Linked DNA regions of Homo sapiens: regions 1, 2 and 3 are each linked to region 4. Evidence: promoter capture Hi-C in human tissues and cell types (Jung and others, 2019). All regions are on one chromosome and are shown on one strand. The core of a region is centred on a gene start or on the middle of the fragment in contact, and the rest is flanking DNA. Distances in the headings are between cores, read along the strand shown.

Region 1 (2,700 bases), core at 63-2,562, 840 kb before region 4:
GCAATAAACATTTACTAAGGAGCTATTAATGGGTCAGTCACAAGTGGAAGAATGTTGTGAATATAGAAGTGAATGGGAGTGTGTCTAAAAGATCATATAATTTGGTATGTAAAACTGAAAAAGTAAGTAATTACAGCAGTGAACTAGGAGCTACCATGGAAGTGTTTCTAAGGCAGACAATGAGAAGATGAGAAATGATCAGTTTTTTTTTTTTTTTGAGTTGGAGTCTCGCTTTGTCGCCCAGGCTGGAGTGCAGTGGCATGATCTTGGTTCACTGTAAACTCCGCCTCCCAGATTCAAGTGATTTTCCTGCCTCAGCCTCCTGAGTAGCTGGGATTACAGGTGCCCGCCACCATGCCCAGCTAATTTTTGTATTTTTAGTAGAGATGGGGTTTCACCACATTGGTCAGGCTGGTCTCGAACTCTTGACTTCGTGATCTGCCCTCCTTGGCCTCCCAAAGTGCTGAGATTACAGGCGTAAGCCACCGCACCCGGCCGAGAAATGATCAGTTTTAATAGTGAAATTATGGAAGGCTTTTTAGCTTTTGCCACCTATTTGTTGCTCTTCCTTGTGTTCCAATTGGAAAGGATGAAGGGAGAGAATTAATTAGGTGGTTGAATTGGCAGAATTTAGTGACCATATGACTATTCTTATTTCATAATGTTTAATTTATCTTTGTGAAGCAAAACTGAAGTGTTATCATTTACTGAGTGCCAAGTGTTGGGCTAGGTACTTGACATACGTTTATTCTAATCCTCACAACCATTTTTATAGTTCATCAGTATTATCTGCATTTTACAGGTAAGAAATACAAAGTTTGGGTAATTTTAGTAATGTACCTAATGCCAGAATCCGCTAAGGACATGATCTCCAAGTGCATCCAAAATAGACACCAAGGCTGGGTGCAATGGCTTACACATGTAATCCCAGCACTTTTTGGGAGGCTGAGGTGAGAGGATTGCTTCAGCCCAGGAGTTCAAGACCAGCCTGGGTGACACAGTGAGACCCAGTCTCTAGAAAAAGTAAAATAAAATTAGCCAGGTGTAGTGGCACACCTTGTGGTCCCGGCTACTAGGGAGGCTGAGGTGGGAGGATTGTCTGAGGCTCGGAAATTGTGCTGTTGCACTCCAGCCTGGGTGGCAGAGTGAGGCTACTGTCTCAAAAATAAATAAACAGAATAGACACCAAGTTGCGTTTTAAAATTTTGTAGACCGTAACCTAATAAATGGCTGAATAGAGTTATTGTCAAAATGCTTGTTATTTACAGAGTTTATTTGCATGATTTGGATCACCAATAAGAAGTCCCAATCTTAATTACCAATTTGGCAGGAAAATATATCTTTGTCTCTTCTATTGCTTTCTTCAGCATAATGTAAAGTCAACTATTTACAGGTTGATTTTAAAAATATGAGTTGGGTTGCTTCACAATCTAGTTATTTTTAGTATTGCTAATATTTTGTGTTCGTATGGTGTCATTGGGGAGTCTACTTATTTCCCATAATACTTCTGTAATGGAGTAGGGCTGACAGTGTCTTTTTTTATGGATAAGGAAACAGTAACAGTGGCTTTACTAGAATCCACTCTTATTATGTAACAGAACTAGATTTTTGTGTTGGCTATTATAACTTTAAGATGGTCAAAGTTCTGAAATAAAATGTTTTGTTACTTCAGTAAACCTTGGAAAATTTATATTATCTTTTAACACATAAACTTTGATACTTAACTTAGCAAAGCAGTGCAGTGGCAAATGGGACAAGAAAGAACATGAGCCCAGGGAGTTATTTGTAAATGCAAATATACATTTGCATTTACATTTACAATTTACAAATATACATTTGCATTTACAAATGCACATTTGCATTTACAAATACATCTTAATGTACTTATAAGTTAAGTACATTATTAGAGTACTAAGTTAAGTACATATGTGTAAGTACATATTAGAGTACTAAGATTTATTTCCATGATAAAGAGGAGGTGTTTAAATCAAAGTGAACATCTGTAAATCTAAATATGCCATATGTACTTTAGCTCTGGATAGAATTTAAGATCTAACTGAAAGGAATTAAGTACTTGAAAAATGACTTATTTTGAATAACTAATGTGATACTTGCCCTTAGACTGGATCCTGGACTGCAGGACAGGAAAAAGGGATAATAGGTAAATATTATGGACAATTTTAGTCAATAAATTTGACAGTTAGGATGAAATGGACAAATGGATAAATTCCTTAAAAACTACGAAAGCTTACTTAAGAAGTAATAGATAACCTGAATATCTATATGTGTTTATCTGTATCTATATATGTGAAGACATTGGATATATGGTTGAAAACCTTGTCACAAAGAAAACCCCAAGCCAGTGGTTTCATTGGTGAATTTTGTTATTCGATAAAGGAAGAAATAATACAAATTTTACACAAACTCTTCCAAAAAGTACAAGAAGGAACAGCATTTCCCAACTCATTGTCTGATACCAAAACCACAGAAAGATATAAGAAAAGAAAATTATAGTCTTATATCTTTCATAAACTTTGCTGCAAAAAATGGTAAAATTTTAACTAAGACCAACAATATGTAGAAAGGATAATACTTAATGACTAAGTGGGGTTTATTCTGGGAATGTAAGATGCGTTTAACATTTGAAATTTAATCAATATTAATTCACCACATTAACAGGCCAAAATATTAATTCACCAC
Region 2 (2,700 bases), core at 78-2,577, 780 kb before region 4:
CTTACCTTTTTTTTTTTTCACCTCTTTTCTCATCAAGACTTGGCCTTTCTTTCTTTACCTGAGTTCTCTGAATAATATAGTATAATATAATATTTCTTTCTTATAAAAGCTCTTTCTCTCACTCTTCTTAAGATTTCACCTCAGAATATGTGTTAGTTTAAAATTCCAGATGCACTTTTAAAATGTCTTTCTTAAAAAATCCACAATGAAAATGTATATTATTTTCTTATTTTTCTTCCTTTTTAGGTCCTCAAGTTCTGGCTGCATTGGCAGCTAAAAACTTTAATTTTTATCTCTCCAGTCTTCCAAGATTGCCAAAGACTCTTGGATTCTCTACTTCCTGGCAGCAGCTATATCCCCAAATTCTCAGCCTCTTGCTTTGTGCCAAGAATAACAATGGTAGATTCCCTCAGAGTTACAGTTTGTAGAATTTTGGATTACTTCCCTGTGGTTTCCTTCTCTCTAGGATCTTAGCCTTTCATTACTTGATTGTTTTGGTACCTTCAAATTTATTTTATTGGGCTTTCTAGTTGTTCTTGGTGGGAGCATTGCTATGCCCAAAGCTTCTCTGGCATAACCAGAAGTTATGGTTAAATCTTAGTGTTTTAGTCATTTTATTTAAAAGTGTTAATGAACAAGTAATGCATGCACACAATAAAATTTATACAAACAATAATAAAAAGTCACTTTTCCTCCTGTATTCCAGTCTTATAGTCTTTTTCTTTGGAGGCAAAGTTGCAGTTTATTATGTATCTATCTATCTATATCATGTATACATATATACAGGAATATAATCTAAATAATATCCAATAATATCCAAAAGAAAGGAAATCAATATATTGAAGAGATAATCTGCACTCCTATGTTTATTGCAGTACTACTTGCAGTAGCTAAAATATGGAATCAATCCAAGTGCCCATCAGTGGATTAAGGGATAAAGAAAATATGGTATATATACATGATGCGTCTTGTATATTGCAATATTATTCATTCATAAAAAAGAATGAAATCCTGTCATTTGCAGCAACATGGGTGGAACTGGAGATCATTATGTTAAGTGAAATAAGGCCGCCACAGAAAGACGAATTTTACATGTTCTCACTCATATGTGGGAGCTAAAAAAAATAGCTTTGATGACGTAGACAAGAATTGACAGAATAGAATTGATGAAGTAGACAAGAATACATATGTATACATGATATATGTATATCCTTCTTGTTATATTTCAAGTTCTATTTATAAAATATTTCAAACATGCTGAAAAGAATAGAGGATATAATAAAAATTGTTGTACCCACAACTCAGGTTTAAGAAAATGTTAACATTTTACCATATTTAGATTCTTTTTAGAGGGGGGGGCTGAGGAATAAAATGGTGTAATACACTTCAATCCCTATTTTAAAAATCTATTTTATTTAACAGTTCTTTTTTCTATTTAGTTTGGTTTTCAGGATTTATCCATGTTTATATGTATAGATCTCCCTTGTTCATTTTAGTTCACATATGGCATTCCTTTAATTACTCCTCTGCCAACCCCCATTTATTTTGTTGTTATTTGGTTTTGTTTACATAAATCTGAACATATTTTACTCTATATTCTAGACTTTATATTTCTTACAAAACCTCTTTATGTTTAAAGTATGTGATACCAAGAAAATTTACTTTATATCCCCTCTCAATTTGATGGAAAACTAAAAATAAAACGTATATTTGGGGACAAGTGTATGAGAGTCTTTAATGTCATGGTGATACATTGAGGCTTGTATAGAACATTTGGTGAATTCCAGATATATTGCAAATCTTTGATATGTCTACCTTTGGCATGTCCCAAGTTTTATAAATAGTGCATTTAGGAAAAATTACAAATTACCCTGACTCCTGTTTCTTTACCTTAATACTTCCAATATAATATAACATAACATAATATATAATGTAAATATTTCTCCTTAAGAATTTTTTTCTCTTATTCTTCATAAGACTTCACTTAACAGAATGTCTGTTAAATTAGCTTAAGTAATTTAGCTTCAGACAAGCTTTTTTTCCTTTCTTTTTATTTTAAATTTTAGGTACATTACAAATGGCAACGTATGGTAGTCTCTTATTTTTCTTCCTTTTTTAGGTCTGCAATATTTTGATAGCATTGTATTCAAAATTTATTGATTCATTTTATGTGCTTTAGCACTTTGCTAAGTATTATTGTGGATATTAATGGAATATAAGACATTATCTTGGCCCACATGGAGGCTAAAATTTAATTGAAGAGAAATAAACTGATCATTAGACCACTAACTGAAGTGCTAATGATGTGAAGTGAGATTTGGAGTAGACCATAAAGGATGATGAATATTTGATTTTAGAAAGCAAAGAGGGGAACATCTTTATGATACCAGCTAGGTGAAGCTTGAAGAGTTTCACCATTATGCAGCTGAGGGTACACATTTGCGATAATGGGAAATTAAGTGAAGTAGCAGCAGAGGGTCATCAATAGTCCAGGAAGATTAGAATTGATGAAGTAGACAGTGAGATGCCCATATCAATTGTAAGTGAGAGGATGCAATCAGTATTTTAGGAAGCTGAGTGGATCAGAGCAAGAGGAAGGAGGTCAACTAGAAAGCTTTTATGGAAATTTGGGAAATTCAACTTAGATATAGCCTTCCAAAAAATGCCTATGCACTTTGGCACAGTAATTGCTATACTAAG
Region 3 (2,700 bases), core at 69-2,568, 680 kb after region 4:
TGAGATATGGATCAAGATCCCTTTTTGGGTACCTCTTATTTCTCAATTAATATATCTATCTTTGCATCTTTGTCAAAAATTAATTTACTATACTTGCGTAGGTTTATTTCTAGACTATATTCTTCTCTAGTGATCTAAGTGCCTATCCTTTTGAAAGTATCCTTTTGCTTGATTAGTGTAGCTTTATGGGAAGTCTTGCAATGGGATACCATGAATTCAGTCAAAGCACTTTCAATTGGCAGTAATTATACAGTTCAGAGAAGTCTGGAGTACTCAGGGTATAGAATTGATAGTATGGACCAAAAAGTCTGAAATAAAGTTAGGTCATGTGATAAAAAAGGGCAGAAACAAACCTCTTCTGGGCCAGAGGATGGGCTGTAAAAGGGATTGAAAATGAGTAAAGCTCAGACACAGAAGAATCACCCAATACCTTATCCATTCCTCCATCACAAACTAGGATAAAACTGAAGGCAGAATGGCGAATGGAGAGAACAGAAAAGTCCCAACTGGCCTAGGGGAGGGCCCAAAAACCAAAGCTGTTGTGTATTTTGTTATGTTTTAAATCTTGGTTTTAAAACCAGCACCCCTAGTGTGGTGCGGGGAAAGCAGCTGAGACTTCCAAAGAGGTCTGTGGAAGTGCTGAATGACACAAGGACACATCATGAGGGGTTCTTCAGTAATAGGAGGCACATCCAAGTGAAGGCATTCACATTACCTGCCAATACAAAACAGAGGGGTTCAGGTTATGCAGAAAGAGCAGAGCCTGAATTATTTGCTTTCTACTGCCCCCCATAGCAGTGTTATTAAATATTATTTCTACCTCTAATGAGATTACCCTCAGAATAAATATGAAAAGAAGAACGAAAATGGATGTAGAATCCTAGGATAATTAGTTTTTACTTGGAAGAGGCAAAAATACTTTAAATTTTCAAGCTTACATTATTTGCTAATGTAAAAAATAAGATACCAAAGAAAGTTAAAATATAAGAAGGTTAAACAAATTACATCGTGCAACACAAATTTCTGACTATGAAATTTCATACTTAATAAAATATTATGTCTGGATAATCTATGATAATTGATAATAGGAAAGGAGATGGCAGTGGTTAACATGGAATATCTCCTTTTTTTTTTTTTTTTTGAGACAAGTTACCTCTGTCACCCAGGCTGGAGTTCTGTGGTGTAATCAAAGCTCATTGTAAACTCAAATTTCTGGGCTCAAGTAATCCTTCTGTCTCAGTGTCTCCAGTGGCTGAGGGCTGAGACTTTTTTTGTTTTTTTAACTATTATTACTTTTTGTGGAGACAGGATATCATTATGTTGCTCAGGTTGGTCTCAAACTCCTGGCCTCAAGCAGTCCTCCTGCCTCAGCCTCCCAAAGCACAATATGTCCATGTTTATGGTCATGGTATGCATGGACAAAGCAGCTCTGTGTTGGGTAAGATATGGTTCTGCTTGGAAGTAGAAATTCTGATAATTTGAGGTTACAGAAATTATAAATTATGGCCATGATGAGGTCTTTATGATGGTTCTTATTTCTCTATTGGTGTCAGATCACCTGAAAATAAGATTTTCTTCCTTCCATTTTGTAAAGGAGTAAAGAAAACACCATCAAAGTTGCATTTCTGCTTAATTTCATCAAGCATTTGGCAAATTAAATACAATTCATATTCTATTTTTCAACTCATTTAGAATTATTTATACAATTATGTAGCATGCATATGAGTGACAATTCAGGCAATGAATGAAGGGCTATAAGAACACATAGGCATCCCTCTTAACAGAGAAGGAGACTTTATGTAGGTTACCCAGTGTTCAGTTGTCACGGTGGTTGGAGGCAGGAGGAGTTTGCATTGGCTTAGGTAGTGACTATTTTGGAGACCCTCTTGGACTCCAGACCTGCTGAATTCTAGTTAGTGTTCCCAATCCTGCCTCTGCAATGGCAGTCTTTGCAAAAACATCAAGCATGGCAAAGCCCTGGAGAACCCATGTCAGTAGATCCTGCACTGATCCCAGCAGCTCAGTCACTTAAAATCTTCACAGATTATTTTATTTGAGCCAAGACTGGAAAGGATTATGCCAAATTCTGGGATGTGTCAGCAAACTTTAATTAAAGAGATGGGTTGTAATGGGAGCTAAAGAAAGCACAAACTGAAACTTGTCTTGACATCTATGTATATGCTATATCCTATTATCTGCTTAAGAACCTTCTATTGTTCCCAACATTCCATAAATAAAAATGTTCAGTCTTCTCTAGTTCTTGAAAAATTTTTAAAAAGGCCATTAGATAAATTCAGATTAAAGCCACAACGGGATACCACCTTACATGTATTAGAAGAACTGAAATAAAAAGGACTAAAAATTCCAAGTGTCAGAAAAGATATAAAGCAATGTGAACACTCATGCTTTGCTGTGGGAATTTAAAATTGTACAGCCACTGTAAAATGGTTTGGCAATTTTTTATAAAGTTAAACATGTATTTATTATATGACCCAGGAAACCCACTTCTTAATTACCCTATAAAAGGTAACATTTTTGTTAATAGGAAATCTGTATGCTAGTGTTCATATATAGGCATGGTAAAGTGCTTTTTTATTTGTTTTGTCATTTTTACATACTTTTAAGTACTTGATCTTTTTTCTGTACTGCCATTTTAGCTAAGTACAAAATTGGACTTTCTTTCATAAGAAAATTTAAAAA
Region 4 (2,700 bases), core at 136-2,635:
CTCTGAATCTACCAGGCGACCAACTCCCCGATTGTCTGGTACTATCCCCTCTCACTTCCAGCCTGGTCTCGGCAGAAACAAACAAAACAAAACAAGGCTCTGACGCTGCCTCCGGGCTGCCTTCCAGATTTCAGCCCCCACTGCTGCCCCAGAGGCGGATAGCTAGGCAAAGGCTGCTGCAGTCTCTCCGATTGCTAAGGACACGTTGAGAGTCCTCGGTAACGTTCTCTTTGCAAATCTGAAACTTTAGCCCCATTTGACCCCCTTGCCCCCGGCTCTTCCCCCAGAGTAACTACAACAAGCAAAAACCAAACAGCGAGCGCAATTCAGAGCTTTCCTTGGGAGTGTCAGGGCCCGAGGACAGGAAATCCGGGGAGTTGGCGAAGTCCGGCAGGTGGCGGGGACTCGAGTACCCACCACATTCTCCTCCCACAGCCGAGCTCCGGCGGGGGCGCGGCGCGAGGCACGGACCAGGGATCGGCCCCGTAGGTGCCTGCGCCTCCCCGGAGCCTGGCTCTCTGGTCCCCTTCCCGGCGCACATCTCTGTGCGAGGGACGCGGCCACCCTGTCCCCTCTGCAGGCGGAGGGAGGCGCCACCGCCTGCGGGGCCAGCGAGGGTGAAGCCGTGCCAAGCGCCCCCACAAGCCGCGCTCCTGGATCCCCAGTCACCATCCCCAGGCGCGCGCAGTCCCCGCTCCCAGCGCGCCACGTCCTCCACCTGCCCCGGTGCGCCCCAGCTTCCCTGCTTCCAGAGAGCAGCTCCCCCAGTCCCGGCAGCCCATTTCCAACCCCTTCTCCCACTAAGTCCGAGGAAGTCGAACTCGGAGCGGCCGGTAGGCTCGTCGAGGTGGCAGGGAGTTGCTGGGAGAGCACAGCGCGGAGAGGGACCGCGCACGCCGCCCGGGGATTTCGCCCCAGAGGGCTGGCTCCGCGCGCCCGGAGTCCCAAGCCCCAGAAGCGGGGCCCGACCCGAGCCCTCTGCGTTACCTGGCACCGCCGGCGACTCTCCGGAGACCTTCGGTCCTAACTGCTCCAGGGCGGGCGTTCTGCTCACGTAGCTGCCTCCCCCACTGGGCGGCTGGTGCCCCGCTGGGTCTCTTCACCCCTGCTCGCGGCGCTGTCCCCGCCCCCCACCCCCCTACCCCCTCTGTCAGAAGTGTCACAGCTTTTCTGCCTTCGGATGTTTCGCAAAGTCTCCGTGCGGTTGCCAGGAGTTGGGGGGTACTGCCAAGTGCACCAACCCCGCCGATGCCCTGCCCTGCCCTCCCGCGGCCACCGCGTTCGGCCTGTCCAGTGAGAAGAGCCCCCTGGTCGCGGTCACCGTCCCCCGAGCGTGGCGCGCGGTCCGCTTCCCCTCCCTCGCGCCTTCCCTAGCAGGAGTGGCTGCTGCCTGCCTGTACCGCGGGTCCTCATTCCCCTGCTCATGAATATTCTGACAGAGGCTAATGCCGCTGAAGTAAATTGAATTAGCCAATTGGTGCCAGGAATGTGCGCTCCTTCCTTCTGAGGAGCTGTCTGGAACCCCACCAGATGAAAGCAATTAACGTCCGGTTGGCACCCTGTGGTTTAGACCAGTGAGGGGCAAAATGGGTTAATTCTTTAAATGCAGTTTAGATACCGCATTTAAATGTTTCAACTCCTCTATTGGCTGAGAGCGTAAGGAAATGTTAAGAGGGAGAGAGAAGAAAGGGGATGTGTGGACGTGGGGAGGGGGGCGGGGGTATTTACATCTAAACTTTCCCCTGAAGTTGAGGTAATTATTTTGCACAGATTCTGGAAGAGGCAATTGAGGAGTAGAACAGGATAAGGCAAATAAAATCAGAAAGGAAATGAGTACCAACTCGGGTTTAACCTTGACCTTGAGGGTGCAAAAGACATTGTTTTCAAGAGGAGAGGTAGGGGAAGATGGCATGTGTGAGGGAAACCTCACTCATCGACTTTTAAGAATTTCTTCAAATGCTCAGATTTCCTTTTCTTTTTGTCCTCATAGGAAAATCTTAGAGTTTTAAGCCTTTAACTAGAGATGGGGTGGAGGTATATTAAGGGTCAGAAATTTCTGAGGTGGAAGCTGAGACCACCCTTCTCTCCCAGATGAAGGGGGTCCCCCAAATCACACAATACTGTGACAGGCCCATTCCAGAAGGCAATTCCAGCTCTTATTTCTGAGGTCAGAATACACAAGGTCAAAAGGAGAGATCACCTCTCTCCTGTCCTGATTCCTACCCTAGAATGTCAAGTTACTGACGACAACTTGGGTTTCACAGTGGCTGGAGGGGGACTTTTTGCCCGATGTGGTTTCTACATTTCTCTTCAAGCAAGGTGCTTGGAGGATTTCCTCCCCCATCACTGATTGTAATAGAGCAAGTTATTTTGATTGAATTGATAGGTTACTAAATAATCTATTTGTACAACTGCTCTGTGGCCAAATGATCAATGTGTGTAAAGAACTGATAAAATGATATATATAAACATCCAATAAGATTCCCAAGTGTGTGACAATAGAAATAGTATCCCAGTTAAGGCAGTCATGCCATATTTTAATAGCTTTCAGCAGGCCTAGAATTAGAACTCATAGTTATAACAATGATTATTAATAGCAGAATAGCTAATGTTTATGGAGAACTTGTTATGTGACAGACATGTGTTACACATGTTATTTCATTTCATTTTTCCAACAACTCTATTCAGTCTAGACTATTA

What was found. Contacts are between HindIII fragments. The study calls those that stand out against the background at their distance.
Region 1: a fragment that was not itself captured here is called in contact with the fragment with the promoter of CDH20 in region 4 in 2 of the 25 tissues and cell types used here (bladder and mesenchymal stem cells).
Region 2: a contact is called between a fragment that was not itself captured here and the fragment with the promoter of CDH20 in region 4, in 2 of the 25 tissues and cell types used here (hippocampus and mesendoderm cells).
Region 3: a fragment that was not itself captured here is called in contact with the fragment with the promoter of CDH20 in region 4 in 1 of the 25 tissues and cell types used here (aorta).

What each region holds. Positions count from the first base shown.
Region 1 is chr18:62,171,731-62,174,430 of GRCh38, reverse strand. The region is part of intron 1 of PIGN (phosphatidylinositol glycan anchor biosynthesis class N); the gene reads left to right. Among named protein-coding and RNA genes, the nearest start is that of PIGN, 14 kb to the left of the region's middle. The HindIII fragment of the contact is 3,342 bases long and covers 1-2,700 here.
Region 2 is chr18:62,116,204-62,118,903 of GRCh38, reverse strand. All of the region lies in intron 14 of PIGN (phosphatidylinositol glycan anchor biosynthesis class N), which reads left to right. Among named protein-coding and RNA genes, the nearest start is that of PIGN, 70 kb to the left of the region's middle. RefSeq lists an enhancer at 974-1,143. The HindIII fragment of the contact is 3,092 bases long and covers 1-2,700 here.
Region 3 is chr18:60,652,445-60,655,144 of GRCh38, reverse strand. No RefSeq gene overlaps it. Among named protein-coding and RNA genes, the nearest start is that of MC4R, 280 kb to the right of the region's middle. The HindIII fragment of the contact is 6,274 bases long and covers 1-2,700 here.
Region 4 is chr18:61,332,115-61,334,814 of GRCh38, reverse strand. It overlaps CDH20 (cadherin 20), which reads right to left and starts at 1,385. Exons shown (of 12, transcript NM_031891.4): 1 at 988-1,385. The HindIII fragment of the contact is 19,388 bases long and covers 1-2,700 here.